Linked DNA regions of Homo sapiens: region 2 is linked to region 1. Evidence: promoter capture Hi-C in 16 types of primary human blood cells and fetal thymus (Javierre and others, 2016). All regions are on one chromosome and are shown on one strand. Each heading gives the region's core, a stretch centred on a gene start or on the middle of the fragment in contact. The rest is flanking DNA. Distances are from core to core; before and after follow the strand shown.

What was found. Contacts are between HindIII fragments. The CHiCAGO score rates a contact against its expected background, and 5 or more counts as called.
Region 2: a fragment that was not itself captured here is called in contact with the fragment with the promoter of ZNF793 in region 1 in 2 of 17 cell types (total CD4 T cells and non-activated CD4 T cells); the score reaches 5.5 in total CD4 T cells.

What each region holds. Positions count from the first base shown.
Region 1 is chr19:37,504,253-37,511,801 of GRCh38, reverse strand. It overlaps ZNF793 (zinc finger protein 793), which reads right to left and starts at 4,863. Exons shown (of 8, transcript NM_001013659.3): 1 at 4,836-4,863; 2 at 3,399-3,537. ZNF793-AS1 (ZNF793 antisense RNA 1) reads left to right here and starts at 4,715. Exons shown (of 3, transcript NR_110723.1): 1 at 4,715-4,963; 2 at 5,762-5,956. RefSeq lists enhancers at 4,647-4,796, 4,362-5,153, 5,154-5,945. The HindIII fragment of the contact is 7,284 bases long and covers 1-5,722 here.
Region 2 is chr19:36,417,481-36,425,029 of GRCh38, reverse strand. It overlaps ZFP82 (ZFP82 zinc finger protein), which reads left to right and starts at 6,386. Exons shown (of 5, transcript NM_133466.4): 1 at 6,386-6,538. It also overlaps the pseudogene ACOT4P1. RefSeq lists enhancers at 2,645-3,327, 6,858-7,017. The HindIII fragment of the contact is 563 bases long and covers 4,634-5,196 here.

The DNA of each region.
Region 1 (7,549 bases), core at 3,614-6,113:
GAAACCCACTTTAAAACCTCAGGGTCTAGTTCACTGTGTATGTTTTTGGCTTCCAGGGAGAATAATAGAAAAGAGGCAATCTCAGATGGCCAAGCCAGAACTTCAGATTAGAATTTCTTTTTTATTTTTTTGAGACAGAGTCTTGTTCTGTTGCTCAGGCTAGAGTGCAGTGGTGCAATCTCAGCTCACCGCAACCTCTGCCTCTCAGGTGCAAATGATTCTCCTGCCTCAGCCTCCTGAGCAGCTGGGATTACAGGTGCTTGTCACCATGCCCATCTGATTTTTGTATTTTTAGTAGAGATGGGTTTTCACTGTGTTGGCCAGGCTGGTCTCAAGCTCCTGATCCTCCCACCTCATCCTTGCAAAGTGCTGGGATTACAGGCATGAGCCACCACGCCCGGCATTCAGCTTAGAATTTTGTCCTGGTATTCATGTGGTTTCAGAATTTCAAACAAAATTACCTCATGGTATGAATGCCTTGGCTTCACGTTTATATGATTCAAATGGAATCCTATCAAATTCAGTGAATATGAGTCAATCAAGTGGATTCACAGGGGAGATATATAATTCAATTCAAATTCAAAAGCATGCAAAAGTAATCCACTATATTAAACACTAGTTACCCCTAGGGTGGCAGTAGGTATTGACCAGTAAGGACACCTTCCAGGTGTTAGAAGTGATGAATATCTTGATCTAGGCTGTGGTTACAGGACTCTGTAATATAAAAATTCATTGAGCTGCACCTTAAAGATAAGCCCACTTCACTACATGTGTATTATGCCTCAATTTTTTTAAAGAATTTTTTGGCCGGGTGTGGTGGCTCACGCCTGTAATCCCAGCACTTTGGGAGACTGAGGTGGGCGGATCACGAGGTCAGGAGATTGAGACCATCCTGGCTAACACAGTGAAACCCCCGTCTCTACTAAAAATACAAAAAAGTAGCTGGGCGTGGTCATGGGCACCTGTAGTCCCAGCTACTCGGGAGGCTGAGGCAGGAGACTGGTGTGAACCTGGGAGGCAGGGGTTGCAGTAAGCCGAGATCGTGCCACTGCACTCCAGCCTGGGCAATAGAGTGAGACCCTGTCTCAAAAAAAAAAAAGAAAAGAATTTTTTTTTTTGAAACAGGGTCTCACTCTGTCACCCAGGCTAGGGTGCAGTGGCACAATCATAGCTCACTGCAACCTTGAACTCCTGGGCTCAAGGAATCCTCTCACTTCAGCCTTTCCAGTAGCTAGGATCACAAGTGTGAGCCACCACACCCAGCTAATTTTTTTTTTTTTTTTTTTGAGATGGAGTTTCACTCTTGTTGCCCAGGCTGGAATGCAGTGGTGCAATCTCGGCTCACTGTAACCTCTGCCTCCTGGGTTTAACTAATTCTCCTGCCTCAGCCTCCCAAGTAGTTGGGATTACAGGCGCCCACCACCAAGCCCAGCTAATTTTTTTTTTTTTTTGTAGTTTTAGTAGAGACGGAGTTTCACCATGTTGGCCAGGCTGGTCTTGAACTCCTGACCTCAAGTGGTCCACCTGCCTCGGCCTCCCAAAGTGCTGGGATTACAGGCATCAGCCAACATGCCCAGACTACCCAGCTTATTTTTAAATTTTTTGTAATGATGGAGTTTCGCTATGTTGCGCAGGCTGGTCTCAAGATCCTGGCCTCAAACAACCCTCCTACCCCAGCCTTCCAAAGCACTGAGATTACAGGTGTAAGCCACTGTGCCTGGCCAAACAAGGAATATTTAATGACCTGGAAAAGTATCTGTTATATAAATGAAATTATCTCAATTCAAACTTGGAAATTTTGTTTAAACACAGCCACATCTTGCCTCTCCCCATGGTGCTCCTCCCCCCCAATGAATATCCCATTAAATTAGAGATCAAAAACAGACAATACTAAGATTAGAAGCTAGGGAACCTCTGGCAGAGTAGTGACTGGGAGGGGCATCATGAGGGCACGGTGCTAGAATGTTGTTTTCTGATCTGAGTGCATTACCCAGGGGTATTCCCTTGTGACAATTCATTGAGCTACATATTTATATACATTTTTGCATATATATCACAATAAAAAGTTTATGTAAAATTTCTTTTTAATTATTTGCTCTGAAACCTGGCACTGAGCACAGTATAGGTGGTGAAGGGAATCAACATGGAGAAAAAATTACCCAAACTCCTTACCCTGGCTTATTATTTCACCCATGCTAAGCAGCTATCTGTCTTTGATTCTGTGCAAGTGAAAAACAGGGACTATCTGCTTTTAAAACTAAAATTTGACCTATGTGGGTTCTGAAAGATGTTACCTGCCTTAGCATCCAGCTGCCTTTATTTCTTAAGATGCTACAGGCATTGTGCTTTGTCTGAAGGTTACATAAAGATCAAACGTAATAATTTTTTAAAATTAAAATATTGTTTTGACATTGCACTTTTTCATTAATGGTCAAAATCTTATTTTCTAACTCAGAAATAGAAAGTCAAATACTGCATGTTCTCACTTATAAGATAATAATGTGTACACATGGATATAGAAAGCAGAATAATAGACACAGATGACTCTGAATGGAGGGAGGGTAGGAAGCGGGTAAGGGATGAGAAATTATCAGATTGGTACAATGTACATTATTCAAGTGATAGTTACACTAAAAGCCCAGGCTTCCCCACTGTGAAATATACCCATGTAACAAAACTGCACTTATATCCCCTAAATCTATTTTTTCAAATCTTATTTCCATTTTATTTGCAATCCCATCTCAGCCATTTTAATAACTATTAGTTCAATTTTAATTTCAGTGAGGAACAGTTTCTAAAAGTAGCTTACATTTTGTTTTGTGGCGGTTGTGGCTTTATCTGTCTTGAATTTTTTCTGCCAGGACTTTATAAGGAATTGATTAGTGGAGGTTAAAAATGGCTATGCCTAAAATATATAGGACAAGGCAAAAAGTTTCTCAGAATACAATAAATTCCAAATCTAGTTTCTCTTCCTTTGATAATTTAAGTTGAGCCTAGATAAAAGTATTTTCTAAACACTCTGTTTGCTCTTTCAGCCAAATCTTTTACATTATCATTTTATTTTATTTTGTTTATTTATATTTATTTATTTATCTTGAGACAGAGTCTCATTCTGTCACCCGGGCTGGAGTGCAGTGGTACAATCTCGTTTCACTGCAATCTCCACCTCTTGGGTTCAAACGATTCTCCTGCCTCAGCCTCCAGAGTAGCTGGGACCTCAGGCGCCCGCCACCACGCCCGGCTAATTTTTGTGTTTTTAGTAGAGGCAGGGTTTCACCATGTTGACCAGGCTAGTAATTCCTGACTTCAAATGATCCACCCACCTCAGCCTCCCAAAGTGCTGGGATTACAGGCATGAACCACTGCACACAGCCTACATTATCATTTTAGATACTTACTCAGTAAATTTGTTTTCTAACCACGGGCAAGGTCACATCCATCCCCGCTGTCACAGAGTCAGAATGGATTTCCAGAAACCAGCCTCACTCTTGGGATGCTGGCACAGATGCGTATGTCATTACCTTTGCCAGAAAGAGCCTTAAAGGAAACATTAGGAAAAAATATGCATTAGATCCCTAACAAGAATAGAAGCCACGTCTTTAGTAACATGTTACTTTAGATAAGTTTAGCACGCGATCCTTTCAAATTATTTTCATTATTGTAGAGAACAATAAAAAGGGTGTGGGTTCAAAAAAGAGTTTTCAGATGGGCCTTGGTGGAGAGGAACTGGCTGCTATTCAGCTAGGGAGTGTCACCTGAGTGAAATGTGTTCCCGCTATGCAGGCTTGCAGCCTCAAATCTGTGATTTTCCCATCCCCAATCTCCACATTTCAGGACCCTCAACACCAACCCCTATAAGTCTCCTAATCAGACACGCATAGTGCCCCCAATCACTGGCCTCCAATCTCCAACCCTCAGAGGTTTTCATAGTCACTGATATTCCCCTATGTTCAAATCTGACCAGGAGAGACTACAGGTCAGTAACTACAAAGAACACCGATCCGATCTGATTGCCAGTGAAATTACACAGCCCCCAATCATGAATCCACACTGATTGCCAATGATATCCCAACGACTGAGGATCAATTGTTGATTCTCACAGTCCCACTCCCACCCACAAGTGACAGTCCGAATCACTGAGCCTCATTGAGGCGTACCTTTAAGATAAGCACACTTGACTCTATTCTCCATTCCCTGATCTACAAAAGTCCAATCGTTAATACTCTCCGATCCTCCACCGATGATATGAAGTAAGTCTCAATCACCGATGGCCCAAAACATTTCTCCAAACATTCATCACCACTGACCTCCCTCATTTGAACCCCAAAGTTTCCACAATCACCAATTCCAGTACCCAAACTATTACTGCCCACAGAACTTAGAACCTCCGATCACTGATCCTCTCGGGCTCCGATCATTAACCTTAAAGATCTCTAAACCAGTGTCTGAAAAATCCCAACTGACCCCAGACCCATGAAGACCACTATTACTGACCCCATGCACCCTGAAAATCAAGACATTTCACAGAACTCGCATTTATTGATTCCCACACACTCCCAATCCATCTTCTTCAGAGACCGTGCCACTGACTCCCGCAAACCTCTGTCCGCCACCACTGAGGCCCCGCGAGGCTCAGACGCCGAATCTCTTAACCCTTCAGTTCCCTTGTCATTGACCCTCACGGGCACCCATAGCTGACCCAGTCGGCCACCGTAGTCGGCAGCTCACTATCCTCCACTAGTCCCAGGTTTGACCGTTTCTCAAACCGTGCCTTCCCATTTATGCTGCATCCGCGCCCTGAATCTGAAATTGGTCGTCCTGCCACGCCGCCTCACCGCGGTATAAGGTCGTCCCATCCTGAATGGCCGGTGCGCAGACTCAATTGCGACTTTGAGGCTGTCAGCCGCCACCCGGCAACCTTCCAGTGAACAGGATTCTGGGTTTCTCAAAGCTGTAATTGGAGGTATGATGGCGACGCCCACTTGACTCCTACCTGGGGCGGCCATGTTTAAAACTGTGCCGTAAAACGGATGATTAAGCCCTTTGCTAGACCAAAAGATAAGGCTATTTTAGGACAAGGAGAAGGAAGTGTCCCTGGATCCCTAAACAGAGATGTCGTCTCTGCTCTTAACTCAGCATCTCAGATGCCAAAACCTCCTGTGGCCAACATGGTGGCGCCCAGACATCAAAGCTGAGCTTTCTTTGTCTCCGGCAGCCTGGTAAGATGGCCGCGTACATTTTTACCGCTTCTTACGTGCAATGGGTGCAGCCTCTCCTAGGAGCTCCCCTATGGCAATGTGAAACTCTTTCTGAGCCAGCTCTAGGAGTTAGAGAGCAGCGAAGAGACTCGCTCTTAGGGAGACAGAGACAGCCTAAGGACGGGCGTGACTTCACGGAAAGGGCGGAGCCGCAAGGAAAGGGCGGGGCTGCCGCAGCGGGAAGAGATCAGAGTTCTTAGCGCATAATGGAAAGGAAATGTTGAAAGCAAGGTTTTTACCTAAGGAGGCTTGCCCGAGAAGCCGACCTGAGGAAAGAATGAGTGCAAGCAGTTTATTTGGTAGGTGGGGGATGGAGAAGTGAGACGGGAGCGATGGGAACGAATATACAGTGCATAGGTGAGCAGATTAGCTCTGGATCAATGAGGGCTCAGTCAGCTTGGGACCTCTGGGGGATTGTGTAGAAACCACTTCCAAGTTTTCACAACCACCAGGCCGATGAAGCTTACATATGTCTACACCATCTCTCTTCCTAATTGTTTTAGGGCCACTCCAGAGGTGTTAAAGCTCCAGCACTTCGAGCCTGCCTCGTGGGAAAGTCTTAGGCTGAGTCTGTAGGTGTCTGCAGTTAAGAAGCCAGCGGTCTGCATATGATTGCTCAGGGGTGGTGGCTGGGTCCAACAGCATTCACTACAGGCCTGCCTTGAATACCACCTAGCGCAGTGCTCCGCATATCACAGGTATTGGAACATCTCTAGAAAAGATTGCCTTGTCTTATGAAAATGGCTTTTTAAAAAAATCCTAATTCCAACTGGTCATCCTAGCAACTGATACAATAACTGACCTCAAAATGTTTCCCAATGATTCCTACCTCCTACTATTCACACTCTTATGTAGTTCCCTCCCACATTGTACCAGGGTTGGACTGTGAGACTAATAGAATGCAGTAGCAGTGATAGATGTCACTGCTGAGATTAAATATAATAAATGGCACCTTGAGTTCTGTCTTAAAGGCTGCTGCCCCCACTTTGAGAGAAGTTAGTTGCCATGTCATGAGGATACCGAGACAGCCTATGGAGAGGCCCAGGTAGCAAGGAACTAAGCCCTCCACCCAATAGCCTGGGAGTAGCTGGGGCCTTCCTATAACCAAGTGTATCACCCTTGGAAGCACATCTCCCAGCCCCAGTCAAACCTTGAGATGACAGCAGCCCCTGCCAATAGTTTGACTGCAACTGCGTGAGAGACACAGTCACAAGCACTCAGCTATAGCAGCTCCTATATTCCTCACCCTCAGAAAGTGTGTAAGATACTACATGTTTGTTGTTTTAAGCTTCTGAGTTTAGGGTAATTTGCTATGCATCAGTAGATAACTTCAATGCTGTGTTAAAATGCTACAATTGACATTTCTTCTTTTTTTTTTTTTTTGAGACGGAGTTTCGCTCTTGTTGCCTAGGCTGGAGTGCATTGGTGCAATTTCAGCTCACCGCAACCTCTGCCTCCCGGGTTCAAGCGATTCTCCTGCCTCAGCCTCCTGAGTAGCTGGGATTACAGGCATGCACCACCACGCCAGGCTAATTTTGTATTTTTAGTAGAGACGGGGTTTCTCCATGTTGGTCAGGCTGGTCTCGAACTCCCGACCTCAGGTGATCCGCCTGCCTCGACCTCCCAAAGTGCTGGGACTACAGGTGTGAGCCACCGCGCCCAACCCCATTTCTGAATTCTTTAAATAAAGTTCCTAAAGTTGCGAGATTATTCTGTCAGAGGAGATTATTACCAGTTTCCTCTTCTTCCTTGCGATGGAAAAATTAAAGGCCTATGGCTCTGCTAGATTTTTAAAATTTAACAAAGAGGTCAAGGGTCCTTGCTTCATTTGATTTAATATAAGTGGTTTATATGACAACACTTTGAAGTGATTATAGTAATTAATTTAAAATCACCATTTAGGCTGGGCATGGTAGCTCACACATGTAATTCCAGCACTTTGAGAAGCCAAGGTGGGCAGATCACCTGAGGTCAGGAGTTCAAGACCAACCCGGCCAACATGTTGGAACCCCGTCTCTACTAAAAATACAAAAATTAGCCGGCATGGTGGACGCCTATAATTCCAGCTGCTCGGGAGGCTGAGGTAGGAGAATCACTGAACCCAGGAGGTGGAGGTTTCAGTGGGCCAAGATTGTGCCATTGCACTCCAGCCTGGGTGAGACTCTGTCTCTAAAAAAACAAAAATAATAATATTGAAGTAAAATGAGTATTTATAAAGTGCCTATTAAATGCCTGATTGATCACTGGCCTGCTCACTTCAAGGGCTGTTCTTATTCTAGGATTAGACCAAT
Region 2 (7,549 bases), core at 3,666-6,165, 1.1 Mb after region 1:
ATCCAATTATCATCAAGCCTCTTGGAAAAATAGAGATACAAGGAAACTTCTAAGAAAGGATATCCAGGGAGAAATTTAAGCGCATTTTTTGATGGGCATGGTGCCTCACACCTGTAATCCCAGCACTTCGGGAGGCTGAGGCAGGAGGATTACTTGAGCCCAGGAGTTTGAGACCAGCCTGGGCAATATAGTGAGACCTCATCTCTACAAAAAATTTTAAAAATTAGCTGGGTGTGGTGGTACTTGTCCCAGCTACTCAGGAGGCTGAGTCAGGAGAACTACTTGAGCCTAGGAGGTAGAGGCTGCAGTGAGCCCTGATGGCACCATTGCACTCCAACCTAGGCGACAGAGGGAGACCCTGTTTCAAAAAACCAACAACACATTTTTTACTTAGTGATGAAATACCGAAATCTTTCCCTTTAAGATCAGGACCAAGGCAAGAAGGCCTGCTACCATCACTGCTAGTCAACAGTGTACTGGCTGCGTCACTTGGTGACCAAAAAAGGCTCTATCATCTGCAATGCTTCTCGTTCTGTGCTAATGATAAAATGTTACTCCAGCTTCACACTAATAAAGTCATTCCAGTGTGAAGACACTGGTTGAGTCTGACATATTAATGTCACATGTCTCTTTTCTGGAGGGTCATGTATTGTGAACTCTTTAGTGATAAATGGAGGTGAGACAGGAGAATAGGTCTGGAGGCAGGGAACCTAAGGCCATTCCCGCTGACTTCTTAGAACTGAATCAAAAGGAAAACCCCGTCTCTCCACACCCAAATAACAAAAGGATCAGAGGTTACTACCTTTGCACTGTGTGGCAGATGAAAAATGGAAAGTACCTCTGATTGGTCCCCTCCCGCAATCAATCAGATATTTGCATAGGGCGTAACTTGGTAACTACTATTTAGTCTCTGATTGGTCCTGTCTTCTGCAACCAATCAGACTGGTTGTGGGCCACTCCTTCATTTACATAGGGTGTAACCAAGTAACCAATGGGAAGCCTCTAGAGGGTATTTAAACCCCAGGAAATTCTGTAACCAGCACTCTTTGAGGCTTGGTCCTGCTCCCACTCTGTAGAGTGTACTTTCATTTCAATACATCTGTGCTTCCGTTGCTTCATTGTTTTGTTGCTTTGTGCATTTTGTCCAATTCTTTGTTCAAAACATCAAGAACCTGGATGACTACCATGAGACAAGAACTTAGCTTAAATCCCTACTACACTAATAACAGTTACCAGATTTCTCTACCTCTGTAAAGATTTCAATTGCTATAAAAACATTTACATTTCTAATATACATCTTTTCTCTTATGGAAATGCTTCGGTGAGTGTAAAGATTTGACTTTCAATGGAAATATTTACCACACAATAATATGTGTATGGCTTCATTTTTTCCATACTCTGCATTTATTTGGTTCCTTCCCTGTGAAGACTTTTCGAGTATCAGGAAGCATTGATTGAAAGCCAAACACCTCAATACATTTATCACATTTACTTAGTTTTTCTCCCATTTTGAATGGATGAGAATTTAAGCTGTTTAAATTTATTATATATAAAACATGTATTAGGTTTCAGACTGATGTCTATCAAGGCTTGACATTGATAACTACATTTCTAAAATGTCATTTAATTTCCAATTGCAAACATCCCCAGTGTTATATCTCTTAGATATCTCCTCTGTGGCCTCTCCGGGCGGCTACCTTGTGTTTTGAGGAGATTGCTGTGCTAGATAGAGGCTGTAACTCAACAACTTCTCTTTACCTATATCTATGGGAAAATTAAATTACATGTATGATACTTTGTTCAGAGATTTCTAGTTTACTAATTTTTTTTTTCTTGAGACAGAATCTTGCTCTTATCTTCCAGGATGGAGTGCAATGACATGATCTTGGCTCACTGCAACCTCCGCTTCCCGGGTTCAAGCGATTCTCCTGCCTCAGCCTCCCAAGTAGCTGGGATCACAGGTGCCCGCCACCACTCCTGGCTGATTTTTGTATTTTTTGTAGAGATGGGGTTTCGCCATGTTGGCCAGGCTGGTCTCGAACTCCTGACCTCATGATCTGCATGCCTCAGCCTCCCAAAGTGCTGGGATTACAGGCGTGAGCTACTGCGCCCGGCCGATTTTTTTTTTTTTTAATGACAAAGACATGGCTTTAATGTTATCCAGGAGACAGCTGATTCACATAGGGTTATTGAACACTAGAATCTGATCTTGACTCTCTCATGTCAACAACAGACAAACGCATTACAATTTAGGGAAAGCTGTTTTCTGGGTACCTCCCAGGTGTTTGCAGAAGGCGGCTAGAATTTGCTTCCAGGCATCTACCTGGGCCTTAGAATGAGCCCTGGCTCCCCAACCCATATCACGTGTTTGTTCAGTAATTTGTGAAGGGAAGCTGGGCACAGGGGGAAGTAAGGAGGCTCAGTGTAAAGCCCAGTCCCAGGGTAACAGATGATCTGGGGTTTTTCCTTTCCATGGGCCCGTAACCGTTCAGAGACTGGGCATACAACTCACTCCTCCAGTTATGGTCATCCTGACCAACAATGAAAATGATGGGGCCCTGGGCCTTCTCCATTGAAATCATGCTGGGGTTCTTATACCCTCCTACAAGATCATTCTTTATATCCACGACGTCCACGAGGCCTGAGAAAGCTACCTTGATTCTCCTCAGGTCATAGCCCAATGGTGGAATGCTATTCTGCTTACAGTTTATGCCTCTGTTCCCACTGATCCCGGATCCATTGATGGAAACTGTGTCTGAGTCATTCTTCAAGAATGAGGCCATTGAGAGACAAATATCAGCTCCTAGAGAAATGCCCCAAAGCCCAGTGCCTGGGCCTTTTACCTGGGGATGTTGAAGCATGTAGCATAGGGCTTCTTCGAAGTACTCCAGGGGTATGTTGTCCACGTTCTTGGGGAGATCTTCAAAGTTATAACAAGCTAGAGCGAACGTGGCAAAGCCATGGCCAGCAAGGAGGCTGGCTCGATATTCCAACAGGCTCCCTCCATTACCAAAGATGCCAATGATCCCTAGGAAGGGTCCAGGTCCTGGCGGCAGGAAGAGCGTGGCGCGCACCCGGCCCGCGCGCACCGAATCGCTCCGCACCCCTTGTGGGAGGAAGTCGCGCTCGTGCCGCGCCTGTCACAACAGCCGTCCAGGCTCGGGGTCGTGGCCGTCCAGCACCTCCAACTCCACGATAAAGGGAATCTGTACGTCCCGCTTCAGAAAGCGCCAAAAAGGTTTCTTGGATTCCAGGGCCCAGAGCAGCCCCATGGACTCTAGCCCCCTAAAGCTGCCGCCCAGCACGGGCGCGCGCTCCAGGTCCAGCTCGCCGCGGGCGTCGGCGCAGTAGCGGAAGAGCCCAGCCTTCTCGTCGCGCAGGGACGCGCGCGCAGCGTGTCCAGCGGCTCCGAAGCCAGGCCGCGCATGGTGATGCGCACCGGCTTGTCTCGGCAGCCGCGGCCCGCGGGCTCCAGGATCAGCGTTGCTGACATCTCGGAGCTGGAGCGGGGAATCTTAAGGTCGAGGCCCGAGGCCCGTCCAAGATCGTGGCAAGTGCGCCGATTGTCCAGAGGGCGTCCGGCGTCCCCTGGTGCCGGGAGCGGCCGGTGGCTGAGCAGTCCCAGAAAGCGCCTGGGACTTTAGACCAGTTAACCCGGCGCCCTGGACTCGTCTGAGGCAAAAGGAGCCAGACTCCTCTCCTGGGTCCTCTCCTTGGGCCCCGGGGAGCGCAGACTTTTTTTTTTTTTTTTTTCCTTTTTTTAATTTTGAGACAGGGTCTCGCTCTGTCGCCCAGCCCGGAGTGCAGTGGCCGATCCATAGCTCACTGTAATCTCGATCTCACAGGCTCAAGCTATCCTCCTGCCTTGGCCTTCCGAGTATGTGGGACTACAGGCATGAGTCATCACGCCTGGCCTAAGCCATCACGCCTGGCCTGATTTTTTTTTTTTACTTGGAAAAAAATATATACTTCACTCCCACAAAGTATTATTTTAGACTCCTGCCCCGTTATTCCTAGAGAATTAAAATTTCCAAGTAAAGTAAAAACAAAAAAGTAGTGAAGACAGAAGAGTATTTAACCATATCGCTGTAGAAAATTGTATTGAATATTCTAAGGCATGTGCTTGTCCTTTTTGTGTCTGTTGGTAGAAAAAGAATAAACATTAAACTCAGCTTAGTATTTCCAAAGTAGTAAGAAACACTTTTGCACATAAGGATACTTTGGGAAACCTTGTTTCCCCCACTGTCTTTACACTGAGTGAGTAACAAGGCTCTGTAAAGACGCAGGGGAATTGGTCACTAGCAGGCAAGGCAGACATCAAGCACTGTAAGAAATCAGAGACTGACTTCAAAGAAAACTCAGCGTTTACTGATAAATTGTGTTATATTACCCCATCAATGGCTAGCCTTCATGCCATGAAAATGCATCCATGTTAATGATGTCACTGTCTTACCTAACTGCAGGTGACAGCTGCCATGACATAGAAATGACATTGAACTTAAGGAAAACACTATACTGTTGCAAAATCCTTGTTAAAACCAAACATCTTAAATGCATTTGAAGCAGCGTGTCTAAGCCACGTAAAATCAAACCCTTGATAGTTATTAGCTGGCCTTCTTCTATAAAGAAAGCTTTCTTTTTTCTTTGTGCTTATTTAATGGGGTACAATCAATTATAGACATAATTGGTGGCACAGGGAAAATAATTATTTCAAGTAGTTTTTAAACACTAGCTGTATAACTAAGAGGGACATATAAAAACAGGGATTGGCAAACTTTTTCTTTAAAGGGCCTGATAGTAAATACAGTCAATCTTCATTCACAGATTCTGAATTTGTGAATTCATCTACTTGCTAAAACTTTTTTATAAACCCAGAGTCAATATTTGCAGCACCTTTGTGGTCATTTGTGGACATCCGAAGAGCGGTGAACCTTTTTGAGTCCCTTAACAGGCATGTTCTCAGCCAAAGTCAAACAAAGTGACCCTCTATCTTCTTATTTCAGCTCTCATACTGTAAACAGGTACCCTTTTTGCAGTCCATTTAGTACCTTGGCTTCTCATATTTTTGTTTTTTGCTGGTGATTTTGCTGTTTCAAAGGGACCCCAAATGTAGTAGTACTAAAGTGCTGTTGATGTTCCTATGAATGAGAAAGCGGTCATGTGTCTTACAGAAAAAATACATGTGTTAGATAAGCTTCATTCAGGCATGAGTTATGGAGCTGTTGGCCATGAGTTCAATGTTAATGAATCAATAATATATATTAAAGTGTTTAAATAGAAACACAATAAGGCCAGGCGCGGTGGCTCATGCCTATAATCCCAGCACTTTTGGGAGGCCAAGGCGGGTGGATCACCTGAGGTCAGGAGTTTGAGACCAGCCTGGTCAACATGGTGAAACTCCGTTTCTACAAAATACAAAAATCAGCTGGGCATGGTGACATGCATCTGTATTCCCAGCTACTCTGGGGGCTGAGGCAGGAGAATTGCTGGAACCCGGGAGGCGGAGGAGGTTGCAGTGAGCCAAGATCCCACCACTGCACTCCAGCCTGGGTGACAGAGCAAGACCCTATCTCAAAAAAAAAAAAAAAAAAGAAAAAAAGAAAATAAACACAATAAAATAAGCTTATGCATTCATCGGTTGACTAAAATGTGACCAGATGCTTACAGGAAACTAACCCTGTATTTCCCCTAGAAGCAGTGGAATGGTATTCACTAATTCCGTGTTTGTAGCAAGTTTATAGACCATAACTACTGTGAATAGTGAGAACTGACTGTATTTTAGGCTGCGTGGGCCATCTGGTCTGTGTAACTACTCGAGTCTGTCCTTGTAGCTCAAATATAGCAATAGACAGTACACAATCAAACACGGCTATGTTCCAATAAAACTTTTATTTATGGACACTGAAATTTGACATGTATGATTTTCATATTTCACAAAATATTGTTCTCCTTTTCATTGTTTTTACCATTTAAAAATACAGAAATGGAAAATATAGGAACTGGCTTCCCCGAATCTCCGGAGTCACACGGTCTCAAATCCCAACAGCCACACCCAGTGAAAGAATCCCACCCAGGAGCGCGCCAGGGACAGACTCGCAGCGCCGTCCTCGCTCACAGGGCTCCCTAGTTGGCACTATAGAGAGGCGGTCGCGGGCGCCCCTCTTTAACGCGCCAGCCATCTGTCCCCGCTCCCCTCCAGGCCCTGCCGCGCCGTCCCCAGGCGCTAAGGGACTCGAAGCGCAGCCTCGCTGGGACGGACCTAGCTCCGGCTCCGGGTTCACGCAGAGCAGGGGCTGCACCAGCGAGCGGACCCTTGAGACTGGCCGCGCCTGCGCACTCCGTGAGCGCGCCCGGCCCTCCCAGCAGCCTCCGCGCGCAGCCCGTTAGGCCCCGGGGATTGTGGCGTGACCCGGCAGCGGCTTCCTCCGTTCGGGCATCGCTGTGCCTCGGGTTCGCGCCCCGAGTGAGCAGTCCTGGCCCGGAGCGTCGGTCCTGGTAATCTGTAGGAAAAGCGCTGCGGCCCAGGGGGTAAAGAGAGGTAAGCGGGGCCACTGCAGTATCGCAGAGGGGCGGGAGCCCGCGCCTCAGGCCCGGGTGTGTGTGTCGTGGGCGTGACGGGGCCGGGGCTGGGACGTGACGGAGTCTGTGCGGCTGACTTGGGTGCAGAGACTATTGTATGAGCGAAGGTTGTTGTGGCCGTGGAGTGCGTGACTGACCCCAGCATCCTCTGCCCACACCGGGCCCAGCTGCAGAGAAATGGCCCTCGGTCAGTTTCTGCACGCCAAAGACTCCCAGCAGAAACGCGCAGACTAGGCCGGACCAGGTGGCTCACATCTGTAATCCCAGAGCTCTGGGAGAGCGAGGCGGGAGGATCGCTGGAAGCCAGGAGTTCGAGACCAGCCTGGGCAGCAAAGCGAAACTCCCATCTGTACCAGAAATTTAAAAAATGAGCCGGGTGTGATGGCGTGCTCCTGTGGTCCCAGCCACTCGAGAGGCTGAGGCGGGAGGATGGCTTGAGCCTAGGAGGAGATTGAGGCTGCAGCGAGCTATGATAGCACCACTACTCTCCAGCCTGGGCAACAGCGAAACAAGGCTCAGACCCGACCTTGGGATAGGAATATTAGAACTGAACGAGCCCCCGCTCCCGCCCAGGCTTGCTCCTGGAAGGGACTCCCACACCACCTCCTCGCGGACCCGGACCCACGCACGTGCACTCACAACTCTGAAGAGTCCAGCTGCAGGTTTCAGAACCACAGCATTGCTTCCAGGAAGCTATTGTGAACTCCAGTTCTAGCCCCGGGCATCCATGACCCTGGCCTTTCTTTGATACTGGGAAGAGTTAACAACACCATCTCTCTTATGTTACTCTGGTTATGTGTGGGTGGGCGGTGGGGGCATTGTGCCCTATGCGAGGCTGGGCTGCAAGAAAAGCCTGGTTCCCTTATTAGCCAGTCCTGCCCAATTCTTTAAGAAAAGGGGTCCGAGCGGGAGGAGGAATGAATTGCTGTTGCCTGTTTAAGTCAAGGTCGAGGCGAGTGGGTGTTTCTGC